Regions from separate parts of the Homo sapiens genome. Here all the other regions are linked to region 4. Evidence: promoter capture Hi-C in 16 types of primary human blood cells and fetal thymus (Javierre and others, 2016). All regions are on one chromosome and are shown on one strand. The core of a region is centred on a gene start or on the middle of the fragment in contact, and the rest is flanking DNA. Distances in the headings are between cores, read along the strand shown.

Region 1 (2,700 bases), core at 168-2,667, 540 kb before region 4:
TGGTTCACACCAGTAATCCCAGCTACTTGGGACGCTGGGGTGGGAAGATCCTTTGAGCCTAATTCAAACCAGCCTCTGACAAGCGAGACCCTATCAGAGAGAGAGAGAGAGAAACAATGTCCCAGGCACTGAGGGCCTAAGAAGGCAGCCATTACTTATTATGTGTTATATAATGTCTATTGGGTGGTAACTGTGTGGCAGGTGTGGCAGGTGGATTCTCTCTCTTAATCCTCACCCCCAGGTCACTGGAATCCAGAGCCCACACTGTTAACCACCTTTTGATACGTCTCCCTTTATGATTAGGTGTATCAATACAGTTCATTCAGGGGAGCAGAGCCATTATGGGTATTATGGGAATAAGGGCTTTATTACAGGAATGACACTTTCCCCAAAGACTGAAGGAGCTGGAAAAGTGAAAGTCTGCAAGGAACTGTGGGATACTCCAAGAGGAGTCACAAATGGGTGGAGGACTAGGTGAAACCTATCTGCTGGGCACCTCTGTCTGTCATAGCATCTGACTAGAAGATTTCCACAGAGGAATGGCTGACACTCCCACTCTGCCTTCCAAATCTCACCCCAGGTCCTCTTTTGGCCAACTCTAACTCAGAGCCTTGTTGGTAGGGCGTTCTGGAAGTGTACTTTCCAATTTAACCAAATCGATTTAGCACAATCCAGCACATTATAAAATCTTCAAAGTAGGTGAGATATAGCTGGCTAAAAGTCCAGGCTGCAGAATAAAGTTTGGGCCACATTTTTGTATGTTTATCTCCCTTTTTTAATGGCTGCATGACATTTTAAATAATATTGGTCAGTATTTTATGTATACGGTAGCATTTAGAAACACTGGAAAAATAGTAAATCCTTCAGAGCTGCACTTCAAGGACTAAGCAGAGTGTCTGGCATGCAGTAGATGCTCAGCAAATATTGGATGAATGAATGGATGCTGAATGACTAGAGTTCTTGCAGGACAACATTTTGCCCAGGACAAAATCGCCCAGGGGCAGGAAGTGGCCTCGTTCTCCCAGGTAAGGGGGAGGTAATTCTACTCACCAATATGCCACTACTTTCAGTCTTCTGGCTAGCACCCAAATGGGATGAAAACTCCGTGTTTACTGCTTCGAAGAGGAAATGATCACCACCTCTTTGGGGTGTCTTCTTTCCTCATGAAGATCCCCTTAATTGTACTTCCTCATGTGCAAAAGTGGGGCCCCAACCCTCTTCCTTGGCCACAGCTGATTGAACCATGATTAGATACCTGAACACAGCTGGGCCAATCAGATTCTCCCTTCTGGGAATTTGGAATTGGGACCTAAATAAATAAAAAACATTTAACAAAACAAGCATAGATAACTAAAGGGGGGTAGAAAGATTATTACTAATGAATTAAGATAACTGACAGGCAACTTAGGCAAAAGATATTTTAGTTTCTTACATTACACTCTACATCAAAAAAATTTTGAATGTTTTTAGAGGCTGGGTGCTGTGGCTCATACCTGTAATCCCAGCACTTTGGGAGGCAGAGGTGGGTGGATAACTTGAGGCCAGGAGCTCAAGAGCAGCCAGGCCAACATAGCAAAACCCCGTCTCTACTAAAAATACAAAAAATTAGTCGGGCATGGCACATGCCTGTAATCCCAGCTACTTGGGAGGCTGAAGCATGAGAATCGCTTGAATCTAGGAGATGGAGGTTGCAGTGAGCCAAGATTGCCCCACTGCACTCCAGCCTGGGCAAGAGACTCTGTCTCAACACAAGAAAAGAAAAGAAAAGAAAAGAAAAGAAAAGAAAAGAAAAGAAAAGAAAAGAAAAGAAGCAAACCACAGAGATAAAATATTCACAAAGGACTCATCCAGAATATTTGAAGAATAAGACAAGCAAAAGACAACCAATAGAAAAATGGACATAAGACTTCAACAGAGGATACTGAAATGACCAATAAACATACAAAAAGATGTTTGACTTCATTAATCAGCAGGAAAATGCAAATTAAAACCACAATAAGTTATAATTACACACAGCAAAATGGATAAAATTTAAAAAGCTGACAATATCAACTGTTGGTAAGAATGTGGGAAAACCAGAACTCTCTCTCACTGATGATGGCAATGTCAACTAGAACAAACACTGTGGAACTATCTACTATTTGGGAATATCTATCAAAGCTGAGCATATATATGTAACTTATTACACAGCAGTTCCAGTCTTACTTATACACCCAAGAGAAATGCATACTTCTTTTTACCAAAAGACATGTACAAGAATATTTACCGCAACACTATTCATTATGGCTCAAATCTAGAAACTTCCGAGTACATTGTGGTATAGTGACATTGTGGAATACTATACAGCAATGAGAATGAGTGAACTACAACTAATACATTCAACCTGGATGAATCTCACAGATATGTTAAATAAAAGAAGTATTTACTATATAATTCCATTTATATAAAGAAAACGCAAAACTAATCTCTACTGTTGAAGTCAGGCTAATGGTTATCTTTGAGGGATAGTAACTGGCAACGAATATGGGGGATTCTGGAGATGCGGATAATGCTGTTTCTTGATCTGAATCCAGGTAACAGTCATTCCATTTGTGAAAACTTCATTGAACTGTACACTTACAACACATCCTCTTTTCCTCACTGCACAACACATCCTCTTTTCCTCACTACATACTATGCTTTACCATAATTTTTTTTTTT
Region 2 (2,700 bases), core at 131-2,630, 700 kb before region 4:
GGTTGGGAAAATACCAAGCCATCCACCCTCCTTGACAATCCAGAGGTGAAGTTAAAGGTGTTCTCGGTTCTTAACTCTGCTACCTTAATACCTCCAGAGAAGGAGCCAGGGCCCATACAAAATTGCCTTCCAATTAATGAGCAGGTCTTTCCAAGGCAACCAGACCTGGCAGATCAGCCCCTGCTGTGCTCCAAACTAGGACTGTTCACAGATGCAAGCAGCTTCATGGACCATGGACATCATCATGCTGAATTTGAGGTCATTACCTTACAAGGAATTAAGGAAGCCAAAGCCTTATTGCTAGGCACCTCAGCTCAGTGGGCCAAGGTGCCCTTATGCATGCCCTCCAATTGGGTAAGAAAAAAAATTATGAATATTTACATAGACTCCCAATATGATTTCTTGGTGGCACATGCCCACAGAGCTATGTAGAGAGAGGTCTTTTGACTAGCAAAAATAAAGAAATCAAATATACTTCTGATATTTTGGCCTTATTAGAATCTGTAAAAGGCCAGGCATGGTGGCTCATGCCTATAATCCCAGCACTTTGGGAGGCTGAGGCGGGTGAATCACCTAAGGTCAGGAGTTCAAGACCAGCCTGGCCAACATGGTGAAACCTCGTCTCTACTAAAAAATATAAAAATTAGCCAGGCACGGTGACACATGCCTGTAGTCCCAGCTACTTGGGAGGCTGAGGCAGGAGAATCACTTGAACCCGGGAGGCAGAAGTTGCAGTGAGCCGAGATTGTGCCACTGCACCCTAGCCTGAGCAACAGAGTGAGACTCTATCTAAAAAAAAAAAAAAAAAAAAAAAAAAAAAAAAAAAAATCAGTAAATGCCCCCTCTAATAGTGGCTATCATCCACTGTCCCAGCCATCAAAAAGGAGACTCCCGAATAGTCAAAGGAAATTAGCTTGCCGACCTGGCAGCCAAGCAAGCCACAAAAACATTGGACTCTGAGGCTTTCTTAGCCCCACTAATACCTCACAATGATCTGACCAAGTTCCAACCTTGCTATACCAAAGGAGATTTAAAGTGAGCCAAGGAATGGGGATTCACATCCCAGCCCTGGCCCATCCAGGCTGGAAATGTAATCTGGAAGGTATCGTATTGGTTCCCAGTGCCCTCCTTAAAGATATAGTGAGCTAGTTTCATCAAAGCATCCATTACAGAAAAGATGCAACCCTTCAATGGCATGTGAGTTCTTGATTGACCCCGACATGCAATGGGGTCATTCAAAATGTGATCTATCAATGCATGCTTTGTGCCCAAACTGCCCTAAAACTGACCCCACCCCTGTTCAAGGGTACAACATTGAGGAGACTCTCCATGCAAGGACTGGCAAGTTAATTTCACCACAATGCCACGGGTGCCTGGAGGCTACAGGGCATCTTTTTGTACAAAAAACATCTTTTTGTTTTTTGTAGACACATTTACAGGATGGGTAGAGGCATACCCTATCCGAACAGAAAGGGAGCTGAAGTGGCCCACACTATACTAAAGAGATAATTCCCCAGTATGAACTCCCTTTGACGATTCAGAGTGACCATGGTGCGGTGTTCATCTCTCAGGTAGTACAGGAAGTGTCTCAAGTCCTAGACATTGAATGGAAACTTCATGCAGCACAGCCACAGCCCACCGGAAAGACTAAAAAACTGAATCAAACTATTTAAAGAACAATTAGGCCAGGTGTGGTGGCTTATACCTGTAATCCCAGCACTTTGGGAGGCCAAGGCAGGTGGATTATTTGAGCCCAGGAGTTTGAGACCAGCCTGGCCAACATGGCAAACCCCATCTCTACTAAAAATACAAAAAAATTAGCTGGACGTGGAGGCGCATGCCCTTAGTCCCAGCTGCTTGGGAGGCTGAGGCACACGAATTGCTTGAAGCCGGGAGGTAGAGATTGCAGTGAGCCGTGATCATGCCACTCCACTCCAGCCTGGGCGACAGAGTGAGACTGTCTCAAAAACAAAAAAAACAAAAAAACAAAAAAAAAAAACTGCTGCTAAAGTGTGCCAGGAAACTAATCTAACTTGGGACAAAGTACTACCTTCTCTCCTGCTGAGGATTTGGGTCATTCCCTGAAACAGGCTCTAGTTGAGCCCTTTAGAAATTATGTATGAGAGACCCTTCCTAGCCACATTGGGGCTAGATCAGGCTATAAAATCTTAGAAAGGGAAGGAGCTATTAGACATTATTTAAAATTGCTAAATGAAATACCGACTTCTGTTCATGAGTTTGCTTCTTCCCCATGGACAGGCCACCTCACCCTTTCTAGGCTAGAGACCAAGTTCTACTTAAAACCTGGAGGGAGACTGGACTGAATCACCAACTAGCCCCTCAAAGGGTAAGACCCTATGAGGTCCTTCTGACCACGCATTCATCAATTGGGCAGGAGTTAAACCGTGGGTACATTATACCTGGATAAAAATTGCCCCCGCCTCAGCCCGACCTATCAGGTTAATAGACCTGAAAGGACATGTGAACCAACTAAAAACCTGAAGCTGCTTTTGAAGAAAACATCCACAGATAAGTAAAGCCTTCTTGCTAAGCACCACAGTACTATATGGCTTACGGTGTCTGCTGAAACCAATCTTTTCCTACAATGGGCACATTATGCAGATAGCCTACAGAAGCTCGTAGGGTTTGAGGGCTGTTACCTATCTCTAGCATGTTGGTATTACCTTGGTCGGTCTTGCT
Region 3 (2,700 bases), core at 197-2,696, 730 kb before region 4:
AGGGGTCTTCCTGACCCTATATGGTAAGAACAGATAAAATTAACCTCGCTTAATTTAGCTAAATTTTTGTTTACTCATATGTAAACTGTCTTAGTAAGAGGCAGGGTTAAACCTCAACTCTCTGTCCAGAGCTCTCTTCACTATTATTTGGGTTTATTACTAACCACTGGCTTGCAGGAATTTAGCCTCCAACCCAACACTGAGGAACACATATGTTATTATGACACGGTCAACAGAAATAGGAAAGTGCACATTACATTGTTATTTGGGGAAAGGTTGAAAATAATTTCAGTAGATAGAGTTCTTGTCTTCATTTTTCCCAGTTTGTAGAGGTGAACTGCTTTGTTTGCTGCCACAAGTATCTGAAATGGATCAACAATCTACCAAAGCAAGGAAAAAGAATTAATTACACATGGAGAATCTGCAGTGCCTGAAAACACATGGTAACTCATGGTTAACTCCAGTGTCAAGCTGTTTTACTTCATCACAATTCTTACGGTCTGTATTTTCAAAACTATTATCCCGGCTGGGCACGGTGGCTCACACCTGTAATCCTAGCACTTTGGGAGGCCAAGGTGGGTAGATCACCTGACGTCAGGGTTCAAGACCAGCCTGGCCAACACGGCGAAACCCTCTCTACTAAAAATACAAAAATTAGTCAGGCGTGGTGGCACGCACCTGTAATCCCAGCAACTCAGGAGGCTGAGGCAGGACAATTGCTTGAACCCGGGAGGCAGAGGTTGCCGTGAGCCAAGATCGCGCCATTGCACTCCAGCCTGGGCAACAAGAGTGAAACTGTCTCAAAAAAAAAAAAAACAAAAAACAACTATTATCCCAAGGGCCTGGGTAGTCAGGAAATCACAGAATTTTAAAGCTGCAAGGAACTTATGCAAATAGTAAAATTTTTTTAAATAACATTAATTGAGGGCTAATATTATGGGCATGATCATATTGCAAACATTTTACTTGTAATATTTTCTTTAATCCTCAAAACTACCCTATGAAATTGACACTATTATTAGTAGTAGTAGCAGTAGTAGTAGTATGTAATTGATGAGGAAATTGAGGCAAAGAATGTCTGGGTTTGAATCCCATCTCTGTCACCTATCACCTAGGAAACTTATGCAAGTTCATTAGCATTTTATTTGTTAGAGACCGATGAAACAGTATTCACTCCATAGGCTGTTGTGAAGATTAAGCAAGTTAGTATACGTAAAGCACTTGGAACAATGCTAGGAATGCAGTAAGCACTATATAAAGGTTGGTTATGTCTTGTTCAAAGGCCTAAGTAGTAGGTCTGGGATTAATTCCCGGTAACATGATCGCACTGCGTGTGCCCTGTTTTTTTGTTTTTTTTTTTTTTTGGAGACAGACAGAGTCTCTCGCTCCATTGCCCAGGCTGGAATGCAGTGGCTCAATCTCAATTCACTGTAACCTCCGCCTCCCAGGTTCAAATGATTCTTGTGCCTCAGCCTCCCGAGTAGCTGGGACTACCAGCACACACCACCACACCCAGCTACTTTTTGTATTTTTAGTAGAGACACGGTTTCACTATGTAGGCCAGGCTGGTCTCAAACTCCGGGCCTCAAGCAATCCACCCACCTTGGCCTCTGTGTGTACTCTTAACCACTACACTATTCCTCCTCTACAGACTGTCTTGTTAGGAACCCCCATTTTAAAGATGAGAAGCTGGAGATCCAGGCATTTCCCATATTAGACCCAGACCACAACCTTTCCTATTTCCTAGGGCAGGACCTGGCACTTCTGCCTCTATTCACTGTTATAGTCAAAGTTGGCTGCATCTGACTTGGACAAGAATTTTTTCCCTAACCGTGACAGATTTTTAGGCTACCCTATAACATCACAAATATTAATGTATACTTAAATGCCCTGTATGGCTCATTCATTCTTTTTTTTTTTTTTTTTTTTTGAGGCGGATTCTTGGTCTGTTGCCCAGGCTGGAGTGCAGTGGCACAATCTCGGCTCACTGCAACCTCTGCCTCCCAGGCTCAAGCGATTCTCCTGCCTCAGTCTCCTGAGTACAGGTGCCCACCACCATGCTCAGCTAATTTTTGTATTTTTAGTAGAGACAGGGTTTCACCATATTGGCCAGGCTGGTCTCAAACTCCTGACCTCATGATCTGCCTGCCTCGGCCTCCCAAAGGGCTGGGATTACAGGCGTGAGCTACCATGCCTGGCCATTTTTTTTTTCCAGACAGAGTTTTGCTCGTCGCCCAGGCTGGAGTGCAATGGCGCAATCTTGGCTCACTGCAACCTCTGCCTCCAGGGTTCAAATGATTTTCCTGCCTCAGCCTCCCGAGTAGCTGGGATTATAGGCGCCCGCCACCACGCCCAGCTAATTTTTGTATTTTTAGTTGAGACAGGGTTTCACCATGTTGGCCAGGCTGGTCTTCAACTCCTGACCTCAGATGATCCACCCGCCTCGGCCTCCTAAAGTGCTGGCATTACAGGCGTGAGCCACCGCACCCAGCAGGCTCATTCATTCTTAAAATTTATATTTACCACTGTAGGATTTATCAGTGATCCATCGATGGTGCCTTCCATGGCCTTTCTTCTCAAGTCTCCCGCATTTTTTACATCTTTAAATAACAGAAGGGTTACCCTGCATTCGGGAAATAGGTCCAGCTGATGTGTTAACTGCATTTCACAGATAAGCAGGATTCTACTGCACACAAAATG
Region 4 (2,700 bases), core at 107-2,606:
GCTTCTCCCCTTGAGAGATAAGGACCTAAAGCTAAATGTCAGGAGATCTGGGAGGAGGCAGTATTTATGAAGAGGAACCTATGGAAGGTGTCCTGGAGAGGGTGCTCATTAATTAATATCCCGCCTCCGAAGGCCTGCACTGCTCAAGACCCTGCCTTCCATGTCCCTTCTTTCCCCTCCCCCGATCTGGCCGACCTCGCCTCTCCATCTTCCTCCATTTTCAGACAGCACCCCGTCTCTGTCTCTCCCTAGCGAGCTCTGCTCCAGAAGGCGCGGAGTCAACCTTCCCCTATGCTGCCGCTGCCTGTAGCTGAGGGCTGCCCACCTCCCGCCCTCACAGAGGAGATGCTGCTGAAGCGCGAGGAGCGGGCGCGGAAGCGGCGGCTCCAGGCGGCGCGGCGGGCAGAAGAGCACAAGAACCAGACTATCGAGCGCCTCACCAAGACTGCGGCGACCAGTGGGCGGGGAGGCCGGGGGGGCGCACGGGGCGAGCGGCGGGGAGGGCGGGCTGCGGCTCCGGCCCCCATGGTGCGCTACTGCAGCGGAGCACAGGGTTCCACCCTTTCCTTCCCACCTGGCGTCCCCGCCCCCACGGCAGTGTCTCAGCGGCCATCCCCCTCAGGCCCGCCGCCGCGCTGCTCTGTCCCCGGCTGTCCCCATCCGCGCCGCTACGCTTGCTCCCGCACAGGCCAGGCACTCTGTAGTCTTCAGTGCTACCGCATCAACCTGCAGATGCGGCTGGGGGGGCCCGAGGGTCCTGGATCCCCCCTTTTGGCTACGTAAGGCCCTTAACCCGGACTCTGCGCCCCGTCCCATGCCCGCTCTTGAGTATCTTCCCCACCCTATTAAATTACATCCGGTGCTTCGGCTTGTACAGAACTGGGGGAGTGGGATGTTGTGGGCAGACCAGTCTCCGGTATACACGTATTTTGCCCCTGTCGGAGCTTGCGTCGATGCCTGGGGCTTGGAAACCACCGCAAAAAACCAGGCTGCAAACCAGCGGACCGACTTTTGGGACTCCGCCTCTTCCAGCCGGGATTACCTGGCGTGCTTCGGCCTTTGGCGTCATTCCGAAAACATACCGCAAGCCAATCAGCGGCAACCTTGCTCTTCGGGGCGGCTGTTCGTTGGTTGATATGCCAGAGCCTGTTCTGTTGTCTGTATTGGCTATTGCCGCTGTCAGTCAGGGCCGTGGGTCGAACCTTCACCTACTCTTTGTCTGTACAAGCTCTTGTTGTCTGGGTGAGCGGCGGAGGCGCTGCTGTGGATTGGTCACAGGGAGAAACCTCTGATCTGTTCCTATTGGCCCGTCCGTCAAGGGACGATGATGATTGGTAGGGCAGAGCAATCTGAGTCCTAGTTGGTGGAGTTCTGCCCGGATGGAAGCTCCGGCCGCGGAGTGATGGTGGCCTCAGCGAAGATGGGCCGGGCAGGGACCATGGCGGTGGCAGCAGAGGTGGCAGGGGCGGGGCGGCTGGCGGTAGAGGAGGCTGTGGTCCTCAGGGGGCTGTAGGTGGAGGTATGGCTCGGGCCAGCAGCGGGAACGGCAGCGAGGAGGCCTGGGGGGCACTTCGGGCGCCGCAACAGCAGGTATCCCAATAGCTCCAAAACCTATCACGACAGCCATTTGTCTCTTTCCCCTTTCCTTGTCCCTTCCTTTTGGGGGTGGGGGAGGAACTCACGGAGCCAAAGGTACTGTGAAGTTCCTAAACATGTCTCTTCCACTCTTTGTCTAAACTTTGTAACGTAGATGCAGCTGACTTTGCCTGTAGCCTCATAGAACCCATCCCATGGCTGCAGTGGAAGCTTGCGGTGGCTCTCCAGTGACCAGAGGCATAGTGAGGTCCCAGGGAGGCTCCCTCTGTCTTGCAACAGTTATTTGTGATCTTTTTCTATGTGCCTATTGTCACAACAGAGTCCGGCAGCGTCTTCTCTTGAGGGAGCAATTTGGAGAAGAGCTGGAACCCAGACTCGCGCCCTGGATGCCATCCTTTATCATCCACAGCAATCCCATCTGGTTGGGAGCACTGCTCTGGGTCTCACACTGCCCCTCCTCTATCCTAGGGAGCCTGAGGCCCAGGGGTGGAAAGATCCAGTTGCGGGTGGGGGGTAGTGAACCGCGCAGGATAATGAAAGCAACTTGCTTTGGAAATGACCTACCGCTACCCGTTGTCTGAGACTGAGATTATCTCAGACTGTCTTCTGGCTTCTGCCAAAACACTCCCTTAACAGAAAGCACCGAGGGGATGGGGGTAGGGGGGTTGGGGAGAGTGAGGCTTGAGTGTGAAGGAAGTCTCATATATGCAGAGCTGAAATCTCCCTCTTTGTATGTCCACACTTTTGTCTTGTTCTCTAGACTGATTCTTGCTATTCCAAATCCTCTTCCACGTTGACAGCCCTTCAGATATTTCAACACTCCTCTCAGCATCCTCCACTTCCCCCATCTCTCCAAGCTGAACTTGGTTCACAGGGTGGGATTGTGTATGTGCATGCAGGAGGTGGGGGTGGACAGTGCCCTGGGCTGGAATCCCCCTTAGTTCTAAGTGCCTCCTTGCCCGCAGCTTCGAGAGCTGTGCCCAGGAGTGAACAACCAGCCCTACCTCTGTGAGAGTGGTCACTGCTGCGGGGAGACTGGCTGCTGCACCTACTACTATGAGCTCTGGTGTAAGTCTCCAAGAGGGCTATTTCCAGGTCCCTGTG
Region 5 (2,700 bases), core at 189-2,688, 680 kb before region 4:
CTGACTACAATCAGTATAACGTGAACAACTAAGATTTAAAAATGTGTTCTCATGTATTCATAAGGACCTCCTAGCCCTCACAGAACAGATGAAGTGCTATATAAAAATTTCACAGAAAAGAGCCTGGAAGCAGTGAATAGGCCATCAGCTGTACCCTCATATCTTAAAAGGTAGTATTTCTGTGACAACAGCTTATACAAATGGGAAAGCCAAACCTCTCAAGTTTTAAAGTTAAAGTACAGGGGAAGATCTGTGAACAAGGTTTAACATAATTAAAAGCTAGTGTCCACATTAAGTGAGCGACTAGGTTACAATTTGAAATTTTATCTTCAAACCCACTGATCCAGTCTCTATCTCTCACCTTCCATTCCCTATCTTCCCACCTCTGTCTCTATTCTTTCTCCACTACTCCATCACATTTTTTAAAAAGGAGTATTTACTGTCAGATTTATGTAACAAAGTGTACACTCCTCAAGCTAAATTTGGAAAGAAGGCAAATGAAGCCTCTGTCCTGTGGGTGTCAGTGGCTTTCCAAAGATAAAAGCTTCTTCAGTCTTAAAATATGACAAATATCATGTTCTTTCTGGCAGAGAGATGCCAGAAAAAGGCAACTGGATCCTTAAGATAAAGAAGCTGTTAAGTTCTATTTTCAAAAGAGTAAGGTAAATCTTAAAGCAGGAACAAGAAAGCACCAGCCTTTGGCTTAAGTTCTCCCATGTGAAGAATAAGAGGTGGTGGTATCCTTCCCCATCTGTACTCAAAGCGGAAAAACAGCAGAAATATCTTTTTTTTAATTATACTTTAAGTTTTAGGGTACATGTGCACAACGTGCAGGTTTGTTACATATGTATACATGTGTCTTAAATACATATGACAAAGGGGCAATTCCACTGGTGCACTCTTTCTTGTTTTGCTTCTAGGGGTCCGTCCCATTCTTAATCTTTGCCCTTTCTTGTCTCTTTCACATAACTCTAAGACTCAGAGTTTTTTAATCTTTTCTTCTACTTCTCACTTCTTAACCAATATAGAAGACAAAAATAACATTTTAATTTTATATATTTCTCATTCAAATTAAAAAAGAAAGATGAGCCAGTTCAGTTCATATTTTGCACTAAAACTAATTTAACATTCCAAAGTTAAATTATTTGTGATCAACAAAAGGAAAAACATCTTACCCTATTAGCACCATCTGACATTTTCATCACCTTAGCATCATTAAATACAACAGGTCTGAGGTTGGAACTATAAAAAAATACCAAAAATCCCCAACCCCATTCATAATGCACACCACAGTTCAGGTAAGAACAAAAACTCACCATTATCTTTATTTTCTTTCAAAAACCCATTAACAGCGTGTTTGAATTTAAAAATAGTCTCATCATCAGGCACTTGATGTCCAACTGTAAAAATTTTTAAGTAAGGAACAGTTTCTGGCAAATCCTATAAAGCAAAACCATAAAAGATGTGTATTATTTCACTTGTAGAGAAATAATTAAAGAGTAATTAGGGGACCCAGAATATAAGCCAAGAGATTATAACAAACTTAATATGCCAATATCAGTATACACAATTCTGATAAAAGAGCCATTTTTTCCAACACTGCTTCAACCAGGAAGTATCACTTGATTTTCAATAAAACTACATAATAGATAGTCACTAGGTATACAAAACTGAAAGCAAATTCCATGTGAATGAATGCATATTTAACTATAAATTATATAAACAGTTCCATTTAATATTTTATAATTCAAGGGCCAGTGCCTTCATAAAGCAGCTATGATTTAAGTAGAAGAGTAGAGAATAGAGTCAGAAGAACTTGGATTTGAATTGTGAGATAGAGGGAATTCCAGGCACTATTGAGAACCGATATTCTTGGGGTGGGAGAAAAGTAGATACAGATAAAAGACAGAAGAGGCTAAGTCAAAATCATTTTAACCATCCACAAGTGTATAGTTCAGTGGCATTACATTCACAGTATTGTGTAACCATCACCACTGTCTATACCCAAAACTTTTTCATCATCCCCGACAAAAAGACTCTGACCACTAAACCATAATTCCCTTTTCTCCCCACCTCATAGATCCTTTAGTCTGCTTTCTGTCTCTGTGAATTTGTCTATTCTAGGTACTTCATACAAGTGGAATCATATATTTGTCCTTCTGTGTCTGGTTTATTTCACTAAGCATGTTTTTAAGGTTCATCCATATTGTAGCACGTATTAAATCTATTCTTTTTTATGGCTGAATAATATTCCATTTAAGACAGCAATTAAAAACATGTAATTAGAGAAATCACTTGGTTCTCTTTTAAACTTACTACCCATCAAAGAAGGCCAAGCTTCACATTAGCACAAGATGATTACTGAATTACTATAAATTATTTTAGGATCAGAAGGAAGAAAGTTCTTTTCATTGAAGGGTTCCACTTACCTCTGGTTTATAATAGCGTTGAGTATATGTTAAATCAATAATCAGTCCAAGTTCTTCATTTTGTTCTCGGATTTTGTTAAAAAGATCCAAAGGGGAAAAGCATTCTTCTGGAGCAAGTTTCTTTTCAAAACTCTGTCACAGAGAATGAAATAAGAGCAAATATGTGCTTAAAATCCTGTACTACATTAGGCATTTATTCAAGTCCTGTGATGCTAACATACAACGAGATTCAAAGGAAAGTTTCCATTCTCCTGGAACATAGAAGGTATAT

What was found. Contacts are between HindIII fragments. The CHiCAGO score rates a contact against its expected background, and 5 or more counts as called.
Region 1: a fragment that was not itself captured here is called in contact with the fragment with the promoter of WBP1 in region 4 in 2 of 17 cell types (non-activated CD4 T cells and fetal thymus); the score reaches 5.5 in non-activated CD4 T cells.
Region 2: a fragment that was not itself captured here is called in contact with the fragment with the promoter of WBP1 in region 4 in 2 of 17 cell types (naive CD8 T cells and non-activated CD4 T cells); the score reaches 5.3 in naive CD8 T cells.
Region 3: a fragment that was not itself captured here is called in contact with the fragment with the promoter of WBP1 in region 4 in 12 of 17 cell types (naive CD8 T cells, non-activated CD4 T cells, total CD8 T cells and 9 more); the score reaches 21.9 in naive CD8 T cells.
Region 5: a fragment that was not itself captured here is called in contact with the fragment with the promoter of WBP1 in region 4 in 8 of 17 cell types (non-activated CD4 T cells, total CD8 T cells, activated CD4 T cells and 5 more); the score reaches 10.2 in non-activated CD4 T cells.

Annotation. Positions count from the first base shown.
Region 1 is chr2:73,921,892-73,924,591 of GRCh38, forward strand. No RefSeq gene overlaps it. Among named protein-coding and RNA genes, the nearest start is that of DGUOK, 3.6 kb to the right of the region's middle. The HindIII fragment of the contact is 4,500 bases long and covers 1-2,700 here.
Region 2 is chr2:73,756,422-73,759,121 of GRCh38, forward strand. No RefSeq gene overlaps it. Among named protein-coding and RNA genes, the nearest start is that of TPRKB, 20 kb to the left of the region's middle. The HindIII fragment of the contact is 3,192 bases long and covers 1-2,700 here.
Region 3 is chr2:73,731,906-73,734,605 of GRCh38, forward strand. It overlaps TPRKB (TP53RK binding protein), which reads right to left. Exons shown (of 5, transcript NM_016058.5): 2 at 2,524-2,686; 3 at 258-380. The coding sequence starts at 2,664. Among named protein-coding and RNA genes, the nearest start is that of TPRKB, 4.1 kb to the right of the region's middle. The HindIII fragment of the contact is 4,504 bases long and covers 1-2,700 here.
Region 4 is chr2:74,457,082-74,459,781 of GRCh38, forward strand. It overlaps WBP1 (WW domain binding protein 1), which reads left to right and starts at 1,357. Exons shown (of 4, transcript NM_012477.4): 1 at 1,357-1,590; 2 at 2,562-2,664. The coding sequence starts at 1,522. INO80B (INO80 complex subunit B) reads left to right here. Exons shown (of 5, transcript NM_031288.4): 5 at 253-863. The coding sequence ends at 783. INO80B-WBP1 (INO80B-WBP1 readthrough (NMD candidate)) reads left to right here. Exons shown (of 8, transcript NR_037849.1): 5 at 253-779; 6 at 2,562-2,664. RefSeq lists enhancers at 160-229, 728-1,234, 860-1,009, 1,235-1,742, 1,680-1,789 and a silencer at 370-609. The HindIII fragment of the contact is 3,318 bases long and covers 1-1,804 here.
Region 5 is chr2:73,772,484-73,775,183 of GRCh38, forward strand. It overlaps DUSP11 (dual specificity phosphatase 11), which reads right to left. Exons shown (of 9, transcript NM_003584.3): 3 at 2,430-2,561; 4 at 1,317-1,440. Among named protein-coding and RNA genes, the nearest start is that of DUSP11, 6.3 kb to the right of the region's middle. The HindIII fragment of the contact is 1,793 bases long and covers 543-2,335 here.